Regions from separate parts of the Homo sapiens genome. Here all the other regions are linked to region 1. Evidence: promoter capture Hi-C in human tissues and cell types (Jung and others, 2019). All regions are on one chromosome and are shown on one strand. Each heading gives the region's core, a stretch centred on a gene start or on the middle of the fragment in contact. The rest is flanking DNA. Distances are from core to core; before and after follow the strand shown. Region 1 holds the start of FBXO28 (F-box protein 28). Region 2 holds the start of WDR26 (WD repeat domain 26). Region 3 overlaps WDR26 (WD repeat domain 26).

Evidence for each region. The method cuts DNA at HindIII sites, captures the fragments that hold promoters and counts their contacts. A contact is called where the count stands out against the background at its distance.
Region 2: the fragment with the promoter of WDR26 here is called in contact with the fragment with the promoter of FBXO28 in region 1 in 1 of the 25 tissues and cell types used here (spleen).
Region 3: a fragment that was not itself captured here is called in contact with the fragment with the promoter of FBXO28 in region 1 in 2 of the 25 tissues and cell types used here (heart right ventricle and mesenchymal stem cells).

The regions. Positions count from the first base shown.
Region 1 is chr1:224,112,238-224,116,784 of GRCh38, forward strand. FBXO28 (F-box protein 28) reads left to right here and starts at 1,874. Exons shown (of 5, transcript NM_015176.4): 1 at 1,874-2,159. The coding sequence starts at 1,893. It overlaps LOC105373056 (a long non-coding RNA gene), which reads right to left and starts at 1,803. Exons shown (of 3, transcript XR_007066897.1): 1 at 1,698-1,803. RefSeq lists enhancers at 1,517-1,646, 1,667-1,726, 1,867-1,936. The HindIII fragment of the contact is 33,635 bases long and covers 1-4,547 here.
Region 2 is chr1:224,432,913-224,437,459 of GRCh38, forward strand. It overlaps WDR26 (WD repeat domain 26), which reads right to left and starts at 1,885. Exons shown (of 14, transcript NM_001379403.1): 1 at 772-1,885. The coding sequence starts at 1,493. It also overlaps a transcript of CNIH3 not described here. RefSeq lists a silencer at 1,864-2,263 and an enhancer at 2,604-2,793. The HindIII fragment of the contact is 17,142 bases long and covers 1-4,547 here.
Region 3 is chr1:224,384,736-224,389,282 of GRCh38, forward strand. WDR26 (WD repeat domain 26) reads right to left here. Exons shown (of 14, transcript NM_001379403.1): 14 at 411-4,547. Among named protein-coding and RNA genes, the nearest start is that of MIR4742, 11 kb to the right of the region's middle. The HindIII fragment of the contact is 3,580 bases long and covers 41-3,620 here.

The DNA.
Region 1 (4,547 bases), core at 624-3,123:
GTGGATCACAAGGTCAGGAGTTCGAGAGCAGCCTGGCCAAGATGGTGAAATCCCGTCTCTACTAAAAATACAAAAATTAGCCAGACGTGATGGTGGGCGCCTGTAATCCCAGCTACTCAGGAGGCTGAGGCAGGAGAATTGCTCGAACCAGCTGACATCGCACCACTGCACTCTAGCCTGGGTGACAGAGCAAGACTCCATCTCAAAAAAATAAATAAATAAATAAAGGAAAATAATAGAAGCATGCTTATCCTTCAATGTGTATTTCCTAAAGACAAAGACATTGTCTTATATGACCATAATACAATTACCCAAATCGAAAAATTTAATATGATTACAGTATAATCTAATATACTGTCCATTTTTAAATTTTGCCAGTTGTCACAATAACGTTCTTCATAGTTATTTCTTCCTTAATCCAGGATCCCATCCAGGATCACCCATAGATTTAGTTGCCCTGTCTCTTTAGTATCCTTTAATCTGCCACAAACCCTTAGTCTTTGTCTTTTGTAACGTTAACACTTTTGAATAATTTATGGGCCCGTCATCTAGCGATGTCTACCTCAAACGCAACTCGTGCTTTTTTTGCATGAATACTACATTATGCTGCGTCCTTTTCAGGGTATTATATTAATAGGCATATGATATTGGCTCCTCCTATAACTGTGGCGTTAGTCTTGATCATTTGGTTATGATGGTGTCCACCAAATTTCTCTATTGTAAACTTTTTTTTTTTTTCTCGCTCTGTTGCCCAGGCTGGAGTGCAGTGGCAGGCTGACGGTTCGCTGCAGCCTCGAACTCGTGTGGCTCAAGCAATCCTCCCATCTCAGCCTCACGAGTAGCTAGGACCATAGGACCTAGCCACCACATTTGGCTAATTTTTTGTATTTTTTGTAGAGATGGGGTTTCTCCACGTTGCCCAGGCTGGTCTCCAACTTCTGGGCTAAAGTGATTCTCCCGCTTCAGCCTTCCAAAGTGCTGGATTACAGGCGTGAGTCAACACGCCCAGCCTTGTAAACTATTTCTTTTCATCTTTGTAAATAATACATAATTTATGGGGAGTTATTTTGAGACTATGGAAATATCATGTTCCTCATCACGTTTACCTCCTAGTTTTAGTACCTTTTGATGATTCTTGCCTAAATCAGTTATTAGAATACAATTCATATATGATAAAATTCATTAAAGTATATAGTAATTCAGTGGTTTTTGTATATTCATACGGTTGTGTAACCATCACCGCTAATTCCAGAGCATTTTTATCACCCCGAAAATGAAACCCTTCACCCATTAGCACTCATTTCCCCATTTCCCCCAGCCTCTGGCGACCACTAATCTACTTTTTATCTCTATGGATTTGCCTATTTAAGACATCCTATATAAATGCAATCATACAATATGTGGTCCTTTGTGTCTAACTTATTTCACTTAATATGTTCTCACGGTTCATTCATGTTGTAGTTCTTATTGATATTTCATACCTTTTTATTTGCCTAAATCAATCATTTCTATGATTCCTAAAAAATGGTGCTAGTCTAACTACATTATTTCCATCTACACTTACTAGGCAACATCTTTATCATCCATTGTCAGGAAGCCCTTTAAGAAAACTGCACAGTGAAGTTCATTTTAATAAATAGGGTTTCCTTGCTCTCAAGTAGTTACTAATCTTAGACAAAAGGGTCTAGGATGACCACCTTTCTTGAGGTTTACATGATCTTCCCTGACTTCCACTTGAAAGGCACCCTGTGAGTCTCTCTCCGCCTGTTATCCCACAGGCTCCTCCCCACTCCTCCAGGTACCCCTTCCCCGGCGGCTGCAGGAGGAGGAAGTGACGCACCGGAAGTGTCCCTGTTCCCCTTGCTGTGGGGGTAAGGAATCAAGCCCCCAAGATGGCGGCAGCGGCGGAGGAGCGGATGGCAGAGGAAGGAGGCGGCGGCCAAGGCGACGGCGGTTCCTCTTTGGCCTCCGGCTCTACCCAGCGACAGCCTCCACCGCCCGCGCCACAGCACCCGCAGCCGGGGTCCCAGGCGCTCCCAGCCCCCGCGCTGGCTCCGGACCAGCTGCCTCAAAACAACACGCTTGTGGCGCTGCCCATCGTAGCCATCGAGAACATCCTCAGCTTTATGTCCTACGACGAAATTAGCCAGCTCCGCCTGGTGAGGCCCCCGCAGAACTCCTGCCTCCCTCTCCCCCCGGCCGAGGTCTGGGAGATGAGAAGGGAGCGCGTTCCCCGGGAAGGGAGCCCCCCGCGAGCCCCAGCCGGCTACAGATCTGGGAGGGAGCCGCTCCCGTCCCGAACTCTCCCTTGGCGTCAGTCAGCAGGAGTGGGCTGGTTCCCGATTGCGTCCTAGCTGCGGAGCTGGGGTTACTTCCTGAGGGGACTTCGCCTTGGGGGCTCCTTGCCCCCCGCCCGGAAGCGGGCCCTCTACGGGAGGGGTAGCGGAGTTGGTCTTCCCACCTTCCGCCTGGCCCGAGAGTAGACCCGGAGAGGTCATGTCGCCTGCCTTTTGTATGCCGCTTCCAGCCCCCGGCCTGGGTTTGGGGAGAAAACTCAGAAGTAGGCAGATGATCCCAGCCAGGTTTGGTTTATCTTGCAAGAATAACGAATTGTTCCCCACCCCAACCACCCAAGTTTTCTTGTTCGAGAAGATTGAGTAGACTAAGGTGGCTCAGTGACCCCAAACCCAGGTAGAGGTTCCGAAGAATTCGAACGTGTTTACTTAGCGTTAGCCCCAGCGCCCTAATTGACCACTAAAGTAGAGCCTTGGGAAATGACCATTCCTGCTTTGCCTCATCCTAACGCTTCCCACCGTAGAGAAGCAACTTACCCCTTGACGGGTTTTTTCTCTTTTGCAATTTATTTTTAACTAGTGATTTACGCCCACCCACCTGCTTTAGGAGAGGTTTCTTTATACCTTAAAATCACAATAGGTCAGTCCATGATTTTTAAAAATAATGAATTTGCCATTGGGGTTTTACTTCACTCCAGAGGTTTGAAGATGTGGTGATTGTTAGTTCAGTTAGATATTTTGCTGCCTTTCAATGAAATTATCTTTAAGTGGTAAAGAAATTGAAGGAGGTGGACATTTTGAAGTGATTGCAAACCGATTCCATGGAGAAGCTAAATCTGTGCTGGGAATTGTTTTTAAGAGGACAAAGATATTTCTGAATGTGCTGTGTATAACATCTTCTTATTACTCAATATGCTATATTGTAGGCATACACCTCCACTTTCAAGTGGATTATAATTACATTTTTAAAGGAAATCATAACATTTTTAAAAGAGAACTTATAAATATTAATTCAAACTGATGGCCAATTTTTTTTCTAGTCAACACAGCAGTTCAACCATGCCAGTCTGCAGGATGGAAAATTTCTTCAGCTGAAAATAGATATTTCACAATTGATTGCCTCTGAATTTCCAAAACGTTTTCATTCTAGAATTTCATGTAGAATCTTAAATATTCCTTCAGATTTTTACAAACAGTGGCGTTTAATCAAAATTCGCGCTGTACATATACAGTGTTTGGAAAATTGGGCATATAACATTTGATTGAATTGAACCATTCAACCAGACAATGGCTTTGTAAATCTTGGAATATTCACAGTTCTGTTTTGTAAGTGTTGAGAAAAACTGAGTTTTATTTGTTTGTTGATCATTTTACTATTTTAAAAAAATGTAGTGGGGAGGGGGGAACCAGCCTGTCCTAACTAGAGTTAAAACACATCCCACAACTTATGAATAAATGACATCTCTGTCAGGTGAGATATTCAGCTGCATTCTTAATTTTTAAGCAGTTTTCTGGCCTTTTAAGGTTATAAATTTATAATTTCAAACTCAGATTTTTCATAAGGAGTCCCTTCAGTACAACTGCCCACCCCCAGGAAAAGATTCTGCCCCGTTTTACATGTGCAAATATGATTTTTGAGTAATGGGGAACTATTTTTTTTACTTAAGGCTAATGGATAATTCTTGAATAGATTAAATGGATAATCCTTTGTGGGGAGTTGGAAGTGTCTTTGCTTGGAAGGTACAATTCAAGTAACGTTAGAAAAGAAAGATGTTCTTTTTTGCCACTAGGTGTCAGCATTAATTTAATTATGATCTTTTCTGAAATTGGCAGTCAAGAGAGTACCTAGGTGAGCTGTACATGCCTTCTTAAGTAGCCATTTATACCTAAAGAATCGTTTGCAAAAAATCAAGGGACTTTAGTGTATGCTGCTATCTGACATATAAGTTACGTAGTTCTCTTCATTGTAAGCATATTTTTGAGTGGAATTAAGGCTGGATATGCTTTGAAGGGGGTAATATTAAGAACAGAATTAGTTTTCATAAAGCTAAATGTCAGTTGTTAGGTAGGAGTTAGTTTATGTATTGTTCAGGGACTTTTTTTCTTCCTTCTCAGTTTGCTTGTCTTATTGGAACCTCAGTTACAACTTTGCTTAGCATCTAATGTAGACAATAAATAGGTACACAATCCATGTACTTACTACTCTGCATTTTCTTTAAAAGATTTGCTCTAGGTTGAAATTGCTACAATAAC
Region 2 (4,547 bases), core at 635-3,134, 320 kb after region 1:
CACCCTATGTTAGGTATACAAGGCCACCTAAATTGTATTTGAAAACAAATGGTTCACCAGATCAGATGTCCCCTTTTCAGAGGCGATCATCTTCTTGGTATTAAACTGAGATTTCAGACTAGTTAGGGTTAGGCCTCTTGTACACACACACAAGGGCCTTTAAACGACATCAACACTGTATCTTCATTATTCGCATCAGATTTATTCAACAACCTCTTTCCAAATGATCCCAGCCCCTCCGTTCCCATAAACACTTGTAGGTGATTGTCTTTCCTGATTGGTAGTTTGCTTGGGTTGTTGTCTGCCACGGTTGGGGGTGGGGAGGTGTCCCACAAAGATGCCTCCAAGATACACTTGAAAAACAAATCCTCCAAGGTTCATTATTTCCACCAGCTCTAATCCACCCCTCCCCCAACACATACAGAAACACACTCCCGCATCTGTCTTTATTGACAGACAATTAAGCTCTGAAGGTGCGTGGGGAGAAGTCATTCTTTGGGTTTCTCCTAACCCTTCCTAACCCCTCAACGCCTGTCTCGTCTCACAATTTGTCAGACTGATTGATTTTCCCCTATTTCCTTTCAGGTCCGCTCCTCCTCCCCGGTCGCCCTGAGCCGCGTCCTCCTGTGTACTGGGTCCTGCGTGCCCAGCACTCATTCTCTTTGACCGAGCTCTTTCAAGCCCCCCTCCCCCCTCCGCCCCTTCCCCTACCCCCCTGGAGCCTCCGTCCCTCGGTCTGTCCATCACCAGCTGGCGGTAAGGGATACTTACTTGAGCCCTAAGCCATTCAAGTGCTGTCCTATTAGCCTAATGACATCCTCATCTGACTGGGAGAGCCGCTTCTTCTTCTTGAGGCTGCTGCCCAGTTCTGGGGTGGCCAAGGAAGAGGAGGCGGCGGTGGTGGCGGAGGCAGCTGCGACGGTGGCTGAGGATGCGGCGGCCGCCCCGCCGGGAACCCCGTTATTGACATTCAGGCTGTTGCTATTGTTGCTGGCGGCGGAGGGGGCGGAAGGCAGGAGCCCATTGGCGTGGGCCAGGTCCCCCGCGGACGACGACGACGAGGGGGACGACTCCCCGTTCTGGGCCGACAAGCAGGCGAGTTCCGGGGTCTGTCCCTGGCCCCCGCCGCCCCCTCCTCCTCCACCGCCGCCGCCGCCACCTCCTCCTCCTCCTCCTGCCCCATTGGCCTGCATGATGCTGCCGCTGACCAGGCTGTGGCCGCTACTTCGGTGGGGGACAGCAGCGGCGGCGGGAGGGGCAGCAGCCGGGGGAAGTCCCACCACTACCACCACGGAGGAGGAGGAGGAGGAGGAGGACGAGGACGACGAGGACGGAGGGGAGAGGCCTGCTCTGCCTGCCGAAGCCCCGGGCTCTCCTACTCCCTCCGCCGCCGAGGCTCGGGGTTTCTTCCGCGGGGGCGGGGAGGCTCCGCCGGTGTCCGAGTCGGAGGAGGAGGAAGCGGAGGCCAGAGTTTCCTCGCCGAGAGAGGCCGTGGTGGGAAGCCGGTGGGGCGAGGCGGGGGAGGGGAGGCGGGGGCCGGGGAGAGGGTCGGGGTGAGGGGGGCCGGGGAGGCGGGGAGGGGGTCAGGGTAGGAGGGTGAGGGTGAGGGTGAGAGGAGGGGGAGGAGGAGGAGGGGGAGAAGGAGGATCCGGGCCCTTTCCCCCCCCCCTCCCGGAGGCAGCTCGGGGTGCGCGGCCCGGGGGTCGCGCCGGGGGGCGCCGCGGGGCGGCTGCGGGGGCGCGGGGCCCGCCGCTGGGCTGAGCCCCGGCAGTGGCTGCGGCGGCGGCGGCGGCGGGCGGCAGCGGAGGCAGCTGCCGCCTCTGTCCTCGGATCCGCTCCGCTCTGCTCCCTGGTGTGTTGATTCTTCCCCCAGCTGCTGCCTAATGGAGTCCAGGCGCTCGCGTCACAGGAAATGCCTATACTGCCCTCCTCACTCACTTCCGGTGGCAGGTATGGAACCTATAGGGGGCCTGTCACCCAGCACGTGCATCGGGGGCTGTCCCGGGGGTCAGGGGAGGGAGGCCAGCGGGCCGGCGGGGTCCGCCCCGACCCCATCCACGACCCCGACTCCTATCCGATCCTATCCCCGGCCCCGCTCGGGCCTTTCCCCTTGCGCCCTGGCTCGGCTGGCTCGACGAGCAGTAAGTTCGTAGCCGCCCTCCGAAGCCGGGCGTGCATGGGATGGCAGAGTTGGCGTGCGTGCGTGAGTCCACCAGTGTGGCATGGGCATGTAAGGTGCGCGGAGGGACTGCACCTTCTCCATCAGGTGCAGAAGGTGAGGATGGGGCAGGGGGCTAGGAGCTTCGACAGGCAGGAACTTCCAGGCACAGGGCTGTGGTAGGCCCCTCTCAATGGTAACCAGGACCGAAATCGGGTTTCACAACCTACTTGTTTTAGGGTGGAAAAACTTGAATTTCCACAGCCAAGTGCCACACAGTTGCTGTACCCGGGGCCATCCCGGGAGCTGTGAGATAATGAGCCGGTGAGACTCTGCTCCACCCTGGGAAGGGGAGTTAGTCTAGAGGAGCATATCTTATGGGGACAAGAAGTCACAAAAAGGCTGTGTGGTGTGTAGAGAAGGGGAGGGACTCTGCTGTTGAGGCTTCACTCTTTTTTAGCACTTGCCCAGCACCTCCTTCTCTCTTCCAGCTGCCTCTTGAGTCACTGCCCAGTTTAGGGAGCAGTAACATAAACCAAACAGTTGCCTCCAAAATATGCATTCTGAGAAGGATTCAGGCACCCATTCAGATCCAGGCTTGAAATTTTTACGTGGCATGTGAGCCTTCTGTGTCATCATGACTTACCAATTTATGTGAATGTAGAAATGCAGCAACAAAGACTGGGCTGAATCTTAATCATTGGCAAATGGTGTGCATTATCCCCAAACAATTATTTTCATGTATGTGGTTGATAGCATCTATACTCAATATGTATAAAGATTTTCTCAGAAATTTAAAGTCTTTCTCTGAAGTAGTTTTCCTGTGGGGAGGGGAAAAAAAACACCTTAGTTTCTAATTAATACATCATACATCGCTGATATTTATTATAGTAATAACTGAAAGTAATTTTGAGGCCTTTGGAGACAGTTGTTTTTAAATTTGGAAATACAATAAAAAATGATGCTGATGAGAAATTAGTAAAGAATCCTGAGGTTTATGGATCCTCAGACAGGAAGAAGTAAGAGGAAGGTCAATGCAGGATCTTACAGGGATTTGGTTTTGTAGTTCTTACTGCTTAAATTTGCTTCCAGGTGGCAGCTGTAATTGCAAGGTGACTCACATACAGTGTTTATATTCACCTGAGGCCGACCTGAGTTCTAGTTGAGGTTCATAGAGCTCTGTCACTGTATCCAGCAGAGCCTGAATTACTAGATAGTTAACACCCTCAGAGAGCCCTGTTTGTATATTAACTTTAGACAACCTTATTATTAAAAGTGTTGTTTAGGCAAAATTTAATTTTTGCAAAATGGTTTATAATAATTTATTAGGCCCATAGCAACATTGAAGACTTGCTTCTGAATAAAGACTGTAGGTTTTATAAAGGAAATCAGTCACTTCATGGCAGCTACAGACAAAGCTCACACTTCATTAACAAAAGTAAAATGATGAAAAATAAATTGGATTCCATTGCTATCTAAACTCTATATTCCAGTTTTTCTAATTTTTAGGTAACCAACACTGCTCGTGTTAGAATTCTGAATTTATAAAGTCCCTTACAGAACATTTTTCTCTGTACTAAAACACAGCTTGAGAATCTGTTATCTGAACTCTGGGTCTTTAGGTCTTTCTAAAGCCAAGTTTCAGGTCTATGTGCAGATGAACAATTCTGAAATACCACTCTACACACTGAGGAACCTTCAGTAACACCACATTACCTACAGAATAAAATCCAAATTCTGTCTTGCTCACCACAGGTTGCTTTCAGTCTTTCTTTTTGGCTTCATCTCTTATTGCTCCTCTTCAGGGACCTGTCTACTGTCCGCCAAATGTACTGGCTCATTTCTCCTTGAGAGTCTTTGACTACACTCTCCCGTCTTTTCTTCACCTGTCTGATGCCAGTCAGTCTTTCAAGACTCAGCTCATTTCAAACCTCCTCAGGGGAGCCTTTCCTGACTTCCACTCTCCTAGCCGTCATTGTGGGTGTCATTTATTAGGCTCCTCAATCACGAAGGCTGCTTGTGATGTAACTTGCTAAGACCCCTTCTTCAGGTCATCAGAGAGAAGGCTTTCTAGACCTCTGTCCCCCTGATTTACCTTCCCCTTTTCACCCTCCTCCTAAAAAGGACTAAGATGGGTTTAGGAACAAAGGTCCAAGTTATCTTTTAGAAAAAAGAAATCAAGTGTGTATTTTGATACTTGATTCATTTGTATTTGCTTCTGTACTGTTTTAAATAGAGACCTGTTAAAAACGGGTCTCTATTTGACCCATCTTGTGTTAGGTTCCAAATAAGAGGTAACTTCTTGTCCTTGAAATAGCAAACAAGCCTTTTTCACATTTCTCACCTTTTTTCAGGGATGCTGTAGAATCAAATATCGAGTAGGTAGTGG
Region 3 (4,547 bases), core at 581-3,080, 270 kb after region 1:
TTGAACCCGGGAGGCAGAGGTTGCACTGAGCCGAGATCGCACGACTGCACTCCAGCCTGGGCGACAGGGCAAGACTCCGTCTCAAAAAAAAAAAAAAAAAAAAAAAAAAAGATGATCCCAACAGACTAACCACTGCTTCTTTAGCTATCACTCACAAACTCTAGGTACATATATGGAAGGCAAATTCAGCAAATCATAGCCAGGCATGATGGTTTGTGTCTGTTATTTCAGCACTTTTGAGAGGCTGAGTCAGGAGGATATTTTGAGCCCAGCAGTTCAAGTCCAGTCTGGGCAACACAGTGAGACTCTCTCTAAAATACATAAAAAATCAGCAAATGTTTTAGGCAAAAAGAGTACTACTTAAACATTCAGATTAATGGATATTAGGAGATGTAACACACCAAGAATTATTTAGGTATTCATTCTGTTTATTGGATTGAAAGAAAGGGAATACAAACGACTGGTTAAGTGCTGCGCACTGACATGGAAAAAGTGTCTTTAAAAAAAAATCCCAGTAAAGCAAATCAAAGTTAATGTAGTTTCAGTTGAACAAAAATTTAAAGACGTTTAATACATTACACATTTATAAAATAAAAGTCAACAAAGGGTGTTTTGTAAATAATTAGTAAACAAGTGAAAATAAATATCAGAGACCTGAAGTTTTTATACTTTAATGAATAAAGCAAAGAAATTTAAACTAAGTAAATATAATCTGAGAGGCAGTTAAAAAAACAAAAATCAAAACCCACCAAAATTGAAGAACACAATCTTTTGAAACATTTAATCAGTCCATAGCAAATAGTTATTACATACCAAAAGCTCTAAGTGTTAACTAGTTCCACCACAATGCCATGTAAATCTTGACAATTTAGAAATCTTGAGATCAACACTTAAGTTCTTTTCTTGATCTCTACAGCTTGGTTTGTAAGTACATACATGCTTTTGTGGATCTATTCCCCTCGCCACACACACACATTTTCAAGGAGCCAATAACATTTTTTTCCATCTGTGCCTAAAAATGTTACAATTCAGTTCTAGCACATTGACCCTGATAATGAAAATGTTTAAGTTAAAGATGGGGACACAATTTCAATCTTATAAAAATATACCAGTATTAACCAAACCTTAAACTCAGAGGGCACTTCACATGTGCACGAGACTTTCAGTAAAAATGACAAGATCCTAGAACAGCTGTTTCCAGGACTTTTTAATGAATCAAGTACTCTCTCTCTCACACACACACAGAACACACACACACATTTTTATACTATTGGTTTTGTTAAATCCAGGCTATCTGGATTAAGTAGATAGGGGATGGGTTTTTATAGTTTTTATTTTTGTAACTATAGGGCAGCTACTATAACAATAGCTTAACAACACTGAAAAATTTCAATTAAGTTCACCCTGTTTTTAGAAAGTGTCTAAGTGTAAATGCAAATTCACCTCTTCTTAAGTTAGCAGTTTATATTAAATCAGATATGGTTTCTGAAATGGAAGTAATGTGTTGGAGGGCAACCCAAAAGGACAGTTGCGAAATTATGAATGAGAAATTAAAGTAAAACCAAATCAAAATATTTATACATTTTAGAGATGGGACAAAAAGGATATTAAGAAAAATGTCTTCTTTCCTCCCCATTCAAAAGCAGCCATTCTTCTACTGTGAAAGAAACTGACATGGATATTTTCCCTTTCAAGAGATGTATGATATATTTACCCACTGTGAGGCAGAGGTGATAGGGTCAGTTCTTGTTTGCAGGAACCAACATCCTAAAAAAGAAAATGTCAAGATGGGGAGGGGTGGGAAAGAAGGGTTTTCTATTAATGTCATGGAATATGCCACTGTAGAGGCAGAACACTCCTAATAATAACATTCACCAGATTACTACTGCTGTTTTTTTCAGACTAAGAAAATACTGACAAAATTGGATTTTTTTCTCCTTTCAATTGCAGGATATTCTGATTATTTAAAGTTAGGGAATCCCTTTTTTATCCCCCCACCCAATAAAATGGGCCAATTTGTAGGGATATATGCAAATAAAATGTTCTCTGTTTAAAATACTTACCTGGTTTAATATAACACATTTATCTGGCCAATAAGAGCAACAGAAATGTAGCTGTTATGAAGACTAAAAAAATACAAAAACCAAAGCTGAAGCTTTGTCATCCCTCCCCACTAACTCCCACTCCAATTCTTTACTACCCACATACTAATCTCAGTAATCCCCAAGTCCAACATTTTACCATTAATAACCAATTATTTGGAGGAAAAAGACATTTAATTTTATATTTGCTCTAGCCCTTAATCAATGCATAACAACAAAAACATTTTTAAGCACATGGAAATGAGCCTACTAACCTGATTTTTGGAGCCCAAATTCTCCACTCTATTTTGATCTATGTGCAAAAAGTATTGGTACTTTTCAATTTATACATTTGTTAGTATCTTGTGGCTGGCTTCATAGTATAAGACTCACTCTTAAGCCTACTATAGAGCCTACAGCACTATCAGAAGTTTTCAATTAATAGCTATGGATCAGAAAATCCTGCGATCAGTTTCTCATACCATAAAATCCTAGGCTTCTTTACCATTGATTTCACCTTTCGAGCACAGTCACTGCATGGCAAATGTATGAAACAGACGTTTACAGCAAATAAGTACCAGTATGTACAGGAAGCTGCCAGTTAAGACAGACCCGGAAAACAAACTCACCTAGCTGCTATAGAAACCTTTGCATAGTTGTTACTCCGTTTTAATAGGAGTTATGTTCTTGTAAAATGTGCCTCACTTTTACTCCACTTTTTAAAAAGTGTTTTTAAACTGTACTTCAGAAGCACTCTGAAAACTCAGATCTAGGGGTGGTTAGGTGAAGTAGAGTAGAATCTGAGTGCCAAATTGCCCCTGAATGGGCACAAATCTGAGTGTTACAAATGCACCGTAGCACACTGTAACCAAATTTGTAAACAGCTGTGGAGTTTCTATGCCCACATTTAGTGATGTTACCATAGAGACTGGGGTGTATTAACGGCTTCAGGGTATACATGAATCACTTAAAATATGAATGGTTTTTAACTATACTGAGGTAAAGAGAAGTTGCCACTTAATTACATACAGTTACCAATGAAGATTTTTATTCAAGCTTAAAGTAAAAAGTAATTTTAGTTAAGAAAAATGAAGTACCAGATAAACTGTAACATATATTTTAACTTAGAAGTATCAAAACAGGAATTTTTTGATTCTCTAAGTGGTGGTCTCTGCAAAATGGAGCTTGAAGAAATCTTTTACATACCAATTTGATAAGAGTCTGCTGACCACGATCTGTCATTTTCTTTACTATGGGCTTCTGGGAGAATGCATGCTATTTTAAGGCCAAATGTGTTTTTCTTTCTTCTCCCCTTCCCTGACTTTTCCCTTTCTCCCATCCCCGACCACCTACCCCACAATGGAAGAATTTTTGACATCCAAGCCCTCTTCTCTTTGTGGATTCTGGAGTCTATTCATGATCATAATTATATTATAGACTTGGCTACACCTAAAGGGGAACTTAGTACAAGACTTTTTCTTCACCAGAATCTTATTTTGGGGGTATCCCCATTCTCATTCCAACAGCTGGAGTCACCCTATTTATCCTCTACTGAAAAAGGGAGGGAATTTCAAGGGAGACTATGTTATGTTGTATTCAGCTGTTACGGAGTTTAAAAGCACAATGTGAACATCAGGCTTTTGGCTTATTTTAAATGTGAAATTCTCAAAATTAAAAGTGCTTTTCCATGAAGGAAACCTTTCCTTAAACTAAAACAGGAGGGGAGAGGGAAAGACTATCCACAGCACCAGTTTAGAATGAGGTTCAGTATGGCAATATCTGAAAAAACTGAGAAAAAATATTCTTTAAATTTATGTATCCCTATATGTCAAAATATTAAGGGCAATTAAGAAAAATGACTATGAGGTTTTAATCCCAGTTTAAGTATGTCTGTAACCTGCTGAATTCTTCTAATAATTTCAATTATACTATAAACTTCCAAAGTGGTTGTATCGCTGATTCCTACTCTTTTGCTAGATCACACCAAAATTACTTCCTAAGTTGAGAACAACTTGGAACAAGCTTTACTGAAAACCAACTGACTACTGATGTCTCATGTTGGTGTATTTAAAATTCTTTTTGAATCTTGAATTTCTTCAAGATCGGGTACTGATGTTCCTTCAGGAATAAAACAAAAGGGGGGAAATCTTCAAAGCATTACTCTGAATTTCTTGTGTAATGTCCTTCCAAGCACTGTTTCTGACCATGTCTCATGTGGTATTCCAGAAGAGCATCAGTTATACTGTGTATCTAAGTCATTGAGGAAACTGTTTTTAAGCTGGTTTAGATTCCAAATGTATACAAATGAAGTCACTTTAATCCTATAAATACTTCTTAATTTATTTTTAAAAAATTGTGCTGTTAACCCTTTTACGGGGCAACAAGCTATGTGAAAAGTACAAAACTTTTTGTCAAATGTAATATTGAGAGTGCTTTTGACATAGTTCACTGGTTTATCATCTGGAT